Regions from separate parts of the Homo sapiens genome. Here region 1 is linked to region 2. The links are contacts of gene promoters, found by promoter capture Hi-C in blood cells and fetal thymus (Javierre and others, 2016). All regions are on one chromosome and are shown on one strand. Each heading gives the region's core, a stretch centred on a gene start or on the middle of the fragment in contact. The rest is flanking DNA. Distances are from core to core; before and after follow the strand shown.

Evidence for each region. Contacts are between HindIII fragments. The CHiCAGO score rates a contact against its expected background, and 5 or more counts as called.
Region 1: a contact is called between a fragment that was not itself captured here and the fragment with the promoter of IFTAP in region 2, in 2 of 17 cell types (fetal thymus and monocytes). The highest score is 8.6, in fetal thymus.

The regions. Positions count from the first base shown.
Region 1 is chr11:36,291,320-36,297,644 of GRCh38, forward strand. It overlaps PRR5L (proline rich 5 like), which reads left to right and starts at 4,969. Exons shown (of 9, transcript NM_001160167.2): 1 at 4,969-5,119. The HindIII fragment of the contact is 2,854 bases long and covers 43-2,896 here.
Region 2 is chr11:36,593,252-36,597,686 of GRCh38, forward strand. IFTAP (intraflagellar transport associated protein) reads left to right here and starts at 1,251. Exons shown (of 6, transcript NM_138787.4): 1 at 1,251-1,341. RAG2 (recombination activating 2) reads right to left here. Exons shown (of 2, transcript NM_000536.4): 2 at 1-944. The coding sequence starts at 917. RefSeq lists an enhancer at 1,158-1,297. The HindIII fragment of the contact is 5,310 bases long and covers 1-2,113 here.

The DNA.
Region 1 (6,325 bases), core at 220-2,719, 300 kb before region 2:
AACACTATTAAGATTATCAATGTTTGTTGTTTTAAGCTATGAAGCTTTGAAGTAATTTGTTATACAGCAATAGTAACTAATGCATGGTGGCAGCAAAGCATAGGGGTTTTAGAATTCAACCTGAGTTGGAATCCTAATTCTACACATTATTAACTTTTCCGTGTACAAATTCTTGAACTTCTCTGGGCCTCAGTTTCCACCTCTGTAAAATGGTGTTCATCACACCCATCTAGTTCAGAGAGCAGAGCTGAGCGACAGGAGCTGCTTCAGTGGGAGGATTCCCAGCTCTCCTTACTCTCGCGGGCTGGTATGATATGAATGGCACCATGTCATCCCATTTTGGTAGGGCTGCCCAGATTGCCAATGCCATGTTGCATGTAAAGGTTTGTCTGTGGTCTGCAGAATGTCCAGCAATTTCTAAACCATAAACATTTTCATGGGTGGGAACAAAACAGAATGTCGGAGTTCATTTCTGTGATTTGGTCCCATTGCCTGGTTTTCATTAGGCCAAACCTAATTTCTTTCCAATTCTGAATATAGGAATCAGTGCTGACTTTCATTTATTTAATAAACTTGTTATGTGCCCGGCTCTGTTCTAAGCCCTTACATTTACTGATTAATTTACTTCCCATTCCTATCCTATGATATTATATATATACGTATGTATATACATACACACACATATGTACACACACACATAAGTACATATACATATATAAGCACACACACTGTATTGTTTCCATTTTACATATGGAGAAACAGACATAGGCAGATTAAGTAGTCTGAGGTCACACAGCTAAGTAGTGGCAAAGCCCAGATTCAAATATGGCCAGTCTGGCTCCAGATTCTGCACTGTTAACCGCCAAGCTGTACATGTCTCCTTGTTGTCCCACAGCTGTAAATTTGTGTTTCTTCTCTTTGCATGTCTGACTACCTTCCTCAGGCAGCAAGAACAATCTAAGAGTGTTCCTGTACAATCAGTCTGGTGATGGTGAGAAACAATATAATGAGTGAGTGGAAGGGCTACCTTGGGCTTTGGGAAAAGACCTAGGTTCAGTTTCCAACTCCTGTGTACTGTTAGCAAATTACTTCCCCTCTTGGAACCTCAATTTCATCATCCGTAAAATGGGAACAATAATAAAAATACCTTTTGGCCATTAGGGGGAGCTCAAGGATGACTTATACCCCAAAAGGGGAAGGATTGCTTATGTGGATTCTCAGTTCTAGTCATTGGCAACGCTAAAGGGCAGAGCTTTCCCCTGTTGTGGGCAAGGGTTTGCACGAGGGGGACTGGCCATCCCAGTTTTCCCAGGGATGAGGGGTTTCCTTGGATGCAGGACTTTCAGGGCTAGCGCTGGGACAGTTCTGGACAAACCAGGCCAGTTAGTCACCCAAGTTTGAGCCCTGAGCCTTGGGGGAAACCAGCCTTTTGGAACACTTGCCCTGATTTCTCCAGTGGGGCAGATATGAAGCAAGGGATATGGACACAGAATTTATTAGTAGAAAATGATTAAGGGCAGCAATCTTAGTATTGAGGGTTTTTTTATAGTAGCTTTATTGAAATAGAATTAACATTCACATACCATACAATTTATCCATTTGAAGTGTAAAATTCGATGAATTTTAGTATACTCACAGAGTTGTCCAACTATCACCACAATTAATTTTAGAACATGTTCATCATCCCCAAAAGAAACAGCATATCCTTTAGCTATCAACACCCACCTCTGCCCCCAATTCTCCCCATCACACCCAGCCCTAGGCAATCGCTAATCTGCTTTCTGTCTCTATGGTTTTGCCTTCTGGACATTTCCCATGAATTGGATCATATGATACGGTTTCTCCTCTTATACTAAGTAAAGGAAACGAGTACAAAAGACCACATATCATATGTTTTGTACTCGTTTCCTCTACTTAGCATAAGAGGAGAAACTTCTTCAAGGTTCGTTCATGTTATAGCCTGTATCGGTACTTCATTCGTTTTTTGCTGAATAATATTTTTTTGTACAGATATACCATAGTTTGTTCATTCATCAGTTGTAGACATTTGAGTTGTTTCTACTTTTTAGCTGTTGTGAGTAATGCTGCCATGAGCAATCATGTACAAAGTTTTTGTGTGAACATGTGTTTCATTTCTCTTGGAGTATACACTGAAGAGTGGAATAGTGGAGTTTCTGGGCCATATGATTACTCTGTGTTTAACCTTTTGAGGAAGTGTAAGACCATTTTCCAAAGTGACTGCACCATTTTACAGTCCCCAGAAGCAATGTATAAGGGTTTCAATTTCTCCACATCTGCACCAACATTTGTTTAAAAAAAAAAAGAGACAGAGAGATGGGGGTCTCTGCTCTTTTACCCAGGCTGGAGTACAGTGGTGTAATCATGGCTCACTGTAGCCTCAAACTCCTGGGCTCAACTGATCTTCCCACTTCAGCCTCCTGAGTAGCTGGGACTACAAGCATGCACAACCATACCCAGCTAATTTGATTTTATTTGTTTTAGAGACAAAAAATATGTTTTGTCTCTAAAACATATGTTTGCTATGTTGCTCAGGCTGGTCTCAAACTCCTGGCCTCAAACGATCCTCCTGCCTCAGCCTTCTGAGTAGCTGGGATTACAGATGGGAGCCACTGCATCTGGCTCTGCCTTTTTGATTATAGTGATCCTAGTGGGTATGAAGTAGTATCTCATTGTGAGCCGTCTTGTTTTGAAGTTGCATTGGTATATCAAACACATTTTGTAACTGGTTCTGTCTTTTTGATTATAGCAATCTTAGCGGGTATGAAGTGGTATCTCATTGTGAGCAGTCTTGTTTTTAAGGTGCATTTGCATAGCAAACACATTTTGTCACTTACGCTACTTTGGTTCATTTGAGGTAACTGATGAAGGTTATGGAAGCTTAAATAAACTCCTATTCTCCCCTTTGGTTTCACTACTAAGTCCTGGCTGCCTTCTTTGTCAGAGGAATGCCTGCAGGAGGTGGATTAGGCCCAGGGTCCTGCAGTCCTTTAAGGAGAGCCCTTGCCACCCTCCTGTTATTCCCCTAGTTTCCCTTTTCCTCACCTTTGTCTCAGTCCAGAGATGAGGGTGGGTTGCAGGGGGAAAGGGCTGATCAATCTTTTTGACTTTATGCCCCCTTTGTGGCTTTGACGTGGCCTGATCAGCTCACCAGTCGTCTTAGTCCATATGGGCTAATATAACAAAATACCATAAACTGGGTGGCTTTATCAACAACAGAAATGTGTTGCTCATAGTTCTGGAGGCTGGGAAGTCCAAGACCAAGGCATTGGCAGATTCTATGTTTGATGAGGACGGTTTCCTGGTTCACAGATGGTGTCTTCTCACTGTGTCCTCAAATGGTGGCTGTGGGCAAGGGAGCTCTCTTGGGCCTCTTTATAAGGGCACTAATCCCATTCATGAGGGCTCCACACTCATGACCTAATCACCCCCCATAGGTCCCACCTCCAAATACCATCACCTGGGGGTGAAGATTTCAGCATATGAATTTGTGGGGGACGCATACACTCAGACCGTAGCGCAAGTTGGGGACAAAAGCTCTGAGTGTCAGCAGGGTTGCACTGGCTTGGAAATGCTGGAAATCTGGAAATTTCCAGATCAGGCATCACAAACTGCATGATCTAGGGCTCACATTGCATTAACAATGTTGTGTTTGGTCCACAGTGTTTCAAAATTGGAAAACTCGACATAAAAAATCCAGCCTTCTGGCTTTTCTTTAAAAATGTGCAGGCCCAACCATGCTGTTTCCACCTTTCTGCATTGCAGTATTTGGCTGAGGCTGAGCCCTGGCTGCCCTCTGAAGACTGGTGTGAGCTTTCAAATCCCCACAGTTCCCGCCACACACTGTTGCATCACAGTGGGCCCTCTCCACACATTTGTCACCTGTCTCATACTTGAGAATATTTATTAGTGCCCAATTCCTTCAGGGACCTAACAGGGTGAACTTAGGCCATAGTAGGTAACAGGGCTAAATACAGACACTTGGGATCCTGGCTTTCCAGCCATCCCCATACCATCTCCTCATGAGTACAAGCAAGTTTCAGGTGTAATGTGGGCATCTAATTTGTGATTTGTGGTTCTTGATCACTTTTATGGGCCAGCCACTGTTCTAAGAGTTTTGCATATATTAATTCATTTAATCCTCCTAGGAACCCAATCATAATCCCGGTTTACAGATGGGAAAACTAACACCCAGAGAAAACACTTGCTCACAGTCCATGGGTAATAGTTGCAGAGTCAGAATTTGAAGTCAGGAGCGAATGAGGTCATTTTGCAAGGTTGCTCATGACCTAGTGTCTGGTTCATTATGGGGGTTCAGTGGGTGCAAGCTTTATAATATTCATCTAGTCTTGCCAACTGCTGCTAACGTGCTGCATGGCTGAGGTTTAGTCCCAGCCAGATGTCCCATCACAAAAGTTAGGCATTGAAGTGGATGACATTTGTGTTTAGAGAAATGATATGTCTCATTCTTTTCAGCTCTAACTTGGGGTAAGTTTCTGAAAGCAAGTAAGAGAAAAGGAGAGGGACATTTGTGATCTCTCATGTATAGAAGACTAACAAAGAGGCAGGTGGTCACACCTGAAGGCACGTCCCCTGACCCTTATTACATAATGCCATGGGCTAAATGTCCAAAATTCCTCTCCCAGCTCTGATTGGCCTGGCTACTATGATGAGTGAAGTCCACCAGGGAAGACACTGTGGCCTCGTTTCTCATCCTCCTGTCCCCAGGAGTAACACAGAAGCAGCTAGTAACACAACAGCATTGTCCTCACATACACAGGCCTGCTTTGTTTCCCCACCACACAGAGCAGCCGCTGTAACAATGGCCCCGAATGACACTTTACCCTCCTTTCTCCAATGTTGCACTTGTTTTTTTAGTCTGGAATGGGCTAAACAATGATTTCCTGCAGGGGGTATCAGCTTTTTATATTTTCTGCCTGCTTCTCTGTCAGTCTTCAGGCCCCAGGTCAGTGAGTGGCAAGCCAGGCCCAGAGATCTCTGCGCCCGTTGGAACATCCCCTTCTCGGGAGGCTGGAAGGCCATGGTCATTCACCTCTCCCCAGCAAGGTGGGACCTGCCCTGGAAGAAGAAACCAGACCAGGTAACACAAGAGAGACAATGAGAGCTTGGGGCTAGGGGGTGGGGTTGCAGGGGATGGCTGAGTATCCAGCCCAAGGAGGATGGGTTTCTGGCTTCAAGACATCCGATTTTCTTGAAAGCCACCATCTGCTGTTAAATAAATAATGAAAAGCAACAGAGGTCAAGTTCAGCAGCCTCCCAGTTAGAAAAATACCCTCTGTCTGTCTGGCCCTGTTCAGTGCCTCTGATATCTCTGGGTGACCAGGGTCTTCATGGCCCATGTAGATTTACTGAGGTGGCTGTTGCCTTAATAATAGCTGCTAGTACTAAGCTCTTTCTCTATGTATTGCATATGTATACCTATTACTGTATGTCTCTCATTGAATGAATAGTAATGATAGCAAACCCTTATACAACATGCCTCAGATTCTTGCTTCTTTCAAACCCAGGGAGTCGGGTTCTAGAATCTGCGCTTTTCGTCATCATGCCCCTTGTAAAGCATTTTTTTTTACAACATCCTGCTAATAAACCAAGGTCATCACAATATTTCACTTTGAGAGGCAATGATATATGATGATAGCTATGTGTATTGTGAGTCCTTTGCCCTGTGCCAGGCAGCATTCTAACTGTTTTGCAGCTATTTCATCAGATAGATACTTTATGATCTCTATTTTATGGATGAGGAAATTGAAGTACGGATAATTTAAGTCATTCACCCGGGGTCACACAGTTGTTAAATGGCAGAGCCTGGATTTGAATTCAGTTTTCTCTTAAGTAGTATGGGAATCTTAGACCCGCCCAGCCCTGCTGGTCTGGAGTTATTCTGCTTCTCTAGGTCATGGTGTATAGAGGGTGACATTCAGTTTCTGGCTTCATAGAACATCTGCACCCAAGTTGACAGCTTAAGGAATTTTTTCGTTTGTTTATTTTAAATGATTTTTCTATTGGCATCAGCTTTTGTCTTGCTTGAAGAAGATGGAATTGCTCAATGACGACAGTGAAGGAATTTGAAAGGGTAAGAATTGCTCAATGAGTGGTATCTCTTTTTTGGCCAGAGACCAGGCTAAGTTGCCTCATATGTAAGAGAACATACGTCAAATACACAGGACTCATGGTATATTATGGAAGCAAACTTTATTTTTGCCTATCATTGTCCCTAATTTTTTTCAGCAGGTCCTCCCTCTTCCCTTGCCCTGGGATGAAAATTAAGGTAGGTCCACAACTCTTA
Region 2 (4,435 bases), core at 1-2,500:
TCTGGGGTCTCCATCTCACGAATTTCTATCTTGTTGTCCTCTAAAGAGATGATGTTGCAGATCATTCTTTTTTGATTTTCAAGCTGATAGCCACCAACAATAACAAATTCATCATTGTTAGTTTGAGTCAGGATTGCACTGGAGACAGAGATTCCTCCTGGCAAGACTGTGCAATTCACAGCTGGGCTACCCAGGGGAAGATCAACCCTTATTCTGTACAGGTTGGCAGGCCGGATATTATTGGCAAGTGAATGTCCTCCTAAAATATAGATGGTGTCATTTTTGGCAATAGAGACATGAAAAGATAGCCCATCCTGAAGTTCTGGAAGAATGTATGATGTAGCACACCCAAATTCAAAATCCACCAGGAAAACACAGGGCAGGCAGTCAGCTACACTATTCCATTTTTCTGTGGTTCTGTGGGTAGAAGGCATGTATGAGCGTCCTCCAAAGAGAACACCCATACTTTTCCCTCGGCTGTACACCACATTAATGGAATGACCATATCTGGCTTCAGGAACATCTCCTACCAAGTCTTTCTCTGTGCAGCGAAAAGTAACCTTTTTGTTGTTCTTGCAAACAATAGACATGACATAAATCTTATCTGAAACCTCATTGTTTGGTGTTTTCCCTCCATGGATGATGTATTGATGCTTTTCAGACTCCAAGCTGCCTTTGAATGTGCAAGTGGCTGGGTAGCGAAGAGGAGGGAGGTAGCAGGAATCCTTAGAGAAAATTGTAGGCTTCAGTTTGACATGGTTATGCTTTACATCCAGATGGAAAACTCCAGTGGGGCAGGATCTTTTGGGCCAGCCTTTTTGTCCAAAGAAGAAAACTTGTCCATCAAAATTCATCAGTGAGAAGCCTGGCTGAATTAAGGCTATGTTATTACTGACTGTTACCATCTGCAGAGACATAGTTTCTGATGGTACGTAGATTTTTGTCTGAAAGAATTATAAAATAAAATGACTTAGAGATCGCTTCATATAATCATCGTATTTAGATTCCTTCACATGTGAATAGCATTTTTTTAAGTCCTCCCACACGCTTGCAGTGGGACTGAATGAGGAAAATCCAAGGAGTTAGGTCAGTAAAGAGCCACAGAACCTTTACTGCCATTCCATCCAAGGAGCTGGGACATGTTTTAGCCACGGACTATATGCTCCCTAGGATTTCTGGGAATTGTAGTCCTTTTCCGTAAAGAGTCACCATGCGTCAGCTGAAAGAACCACATTTCCCAAGAATCCGTTCTCTCTGGGATGTGTAGCTTTGGAAATCTGTCTTTGTTGCTCTGGGAGAGGGGACTCCTGGAATGTGTCTGTGAATAAAGACTAGCCGAAGGTGCGAAGTGACTAGACGGGAGCAAAGGAGGAAAACTAGGGAATGGGAGGTGAGAGTGGCTGACACCGACCCAACGTCCGGGTTGCCGGAAGGCTGCAGCGCCCGGAGCGGTGTCGGGCAAACCGCTACCCTGGTATTGCTGGAGCCTCTCCTGGGGACTTTTGAACAGGTGACCCGATAGGAAGCACAACTGCTTCTGTTGGAGTGCGGTTACCTGGAGACCGCAGTCTGAAGGGACTCCCGGCAGAGATGTCGTTACGGTGTCCTGCCTGTCTGGATGCTTAGGAGCGCGACTCAAAACTACACCCCTGACGACCCTGGAGGTGCTTGGGGCGGGAGGTTGAAGGGGGCACCGAGGTTACAAAAGCCGTGACTGTCTTACAGAACCGAAAGATGGATCTTTGAATCCCTAGAGTGCAGGGGAGACATTGCCTGTTAAAGATGTTTACCACTTCTACATTTAGTAATAGAAATACAGTTATTAGGTTTTAACGAGTGCACTTTGAAGGTCCTTTGTTTTCTTCACTGTTTTTACTCCTGTTTTTAGGGTTCTTTTAGGGAAGCAGAGAAGGTTCCTAAACACATCTTCTTTTCATCTTCATTCTAGGAAAATAGAGTTAGTGGCTTTTTCACATCTTTCCAGTCCAAGAACTTTTGGGTAATTCTTTAATAATTCTGTAGTAAGTAAGCAGGGACTAAGCATAGAAGTGTTTGAATTATTCAGAATTTCATACTTGTGTTACAACAAAAAGAATATTTACTAGATGAAGGAAGCTTGATAAATTTCTATTTTATTATTGTTTACCTTAGAGAGTTGTGGAATACACTCCGTGTTTGCAGTGTGATGTCCTGTGCACCAAATGTTAAAGGAAACAAAACATAGCACAGATTTCTTGACTTTTAAGAGTTAATTCTTAATATGCTTCAAAAGCAGTATAAACAATGGCTGAGTGTGGACTCTGAATGCTTACTGGCTGGATTCAAATCCTGGCTCTGCCACTAACTACATGACTTTGGGCAAGTTATGTAACCTCTGTGTGCCTCAGTTTCCTCATCTGAAAACTGAGATAATAATTTTACCAACCTCATATATTGATGTCAGTTATGATTAATAGTTGAATATACGTAAAGTACTTAGAACAGGGATTTGCATATAGTAGACGATAGTTATGATTATTTTAAAATTTACCAAAAATAAGGTCTAGTGCATACGCACCTGCCAGTAATGGCAGTTGATAAGGTTGGAGAGGATGAGAAGGGGCTTTAGGATATGGGAATCAGGTCAGTGGGTATAGACAGATAAACATTTGAACTAAAAGAATTGGATAAACATATATGATGAGGGTGCTGGTAGTAGTTAATTTATTAACAGAAGATAGTTAATATTTTATTCTTCTTGTCACCCTTTGTCTAACTGGGGATAATCTTGGTATATATTCACTGGGCTGTTTTGAGAAATAAATGGGATAGCACGTGTAAATCACATAGAACAGTGCCTGGCACATAAACACTCAATAAATGTTAATTGATACTATAATTTATCTAATTTATCTTTATTCCTCCTGCAAAGATTCCTTGGACTATTTAGAATCTCTGGTCACTCTAATGAGATGGTAGTGTTTTTTTTTTGTTTTTTTTTTTTTTTGCTTTAAAGAACTTCTGTAGATCAGCTGTAATTTACTGCTAAATAATCTCTTGTAGTTATTATTTTCAGTCTACTTGGGAGACTCGTAAGGGGGTGATCTTTCAACAATTATCTGGTGGGTTATTAAAGCAGGTGAGGAAATGGTGTCTCAGAAGGATTATTATCAAAGTTATGAAAACAAGCCTGTCTCCCTCAGTTGTATATTCAGCAAACTGCCCTGCTTATAAAATAATCTAGGCAGTGTTTTATTTATATCATGGCCTACCCAAGCCTACATGAGGGAAGGCATCTGAGCAACTATGAAAAATGCTATTCATAGAAACTAAAAGGAGACATTATTGACCCTCACTTCAGAAAACTGTAGGTGATTACACTCAGCCTGAGTGATTATGATCAGAGAGTTGTCCCATTTTGGGTGGGGGGAACACCAAAGCCAAGGCCTGCTTGTTTCAAACACCTGTGATGACTGTTATTGAGATACAAGGCAAGCCATACAGTGGTAATGGATTCCAGATCCAAAGGGATTTTTCAAGAACAGTTGTTTTAAAGCAATGTTTTTATTGTCGCCTCTTGGTTTCATTTTAAGGTTGCTGTAGGAATTGTGGCTTCTCGTAAGTGAAAACATGATTATTGTAGATTACACAGAAACATTTTCTTGGGCAAGACATAAGGAGGATTGTCCATTTTTGTAGCTTAGTCTAGGCCCCTAAAGATTTTTGAAACAGGGCTTTTGACCTGTTTTCCCTTTGATGCTCTGCTTTTGGCTCATTTCATAATTTCAAGGCCCTAAAAACAGTGGTAAAGTTTCTTATTGCTAAGATGAATTACCTCCTCTTGTAACATGGTTCAAGTGTGAGTAATTAATTTTTAGATTACTCACTTTAACCAGATGATGTATGCATTTAAAGAATAAACAGGAACATTGAAAGTGTTTTCACATGATTTTGCCACATTTGGTTTTTGAAATTTTGCTTTATCAACTTGAATATATTTTTCACTGGAGTAGACCATTGTATCTCTTCCATAGTTTCAATATGACTGTATTAGTCACACCTTGGTTTTTAAAAAGAGTTTTTAAATGATTATACTATATCTAAAATAACCTACTGAAGTCTTTTCCTTTTAATAGGCTACATAAAAACAGGCAGATTTAAAAGAATAAGATCCTGTTCTTCAGCTGAGGGAGGCTTCAAGGTCAACACATTAAAGATTCTTTGTAAAGGACAGAAATATAGGACCAATAAATATATACAATTTTCCCAACCCCATGCTAACATTCTTCAGCAGGGAGATTTTCATTTATTCTCTCTGATGCTAGGGCATAGTTGAGTATAATGAAAGGACTCATAGTATGAGGTCTGGGTTTATAGTTCCTAATATCTGAACTGACTTTTTCTTTTCCAAAGAAAGATACTGTACTGTGAAACATTAAATCTTGCTGATCCGTGC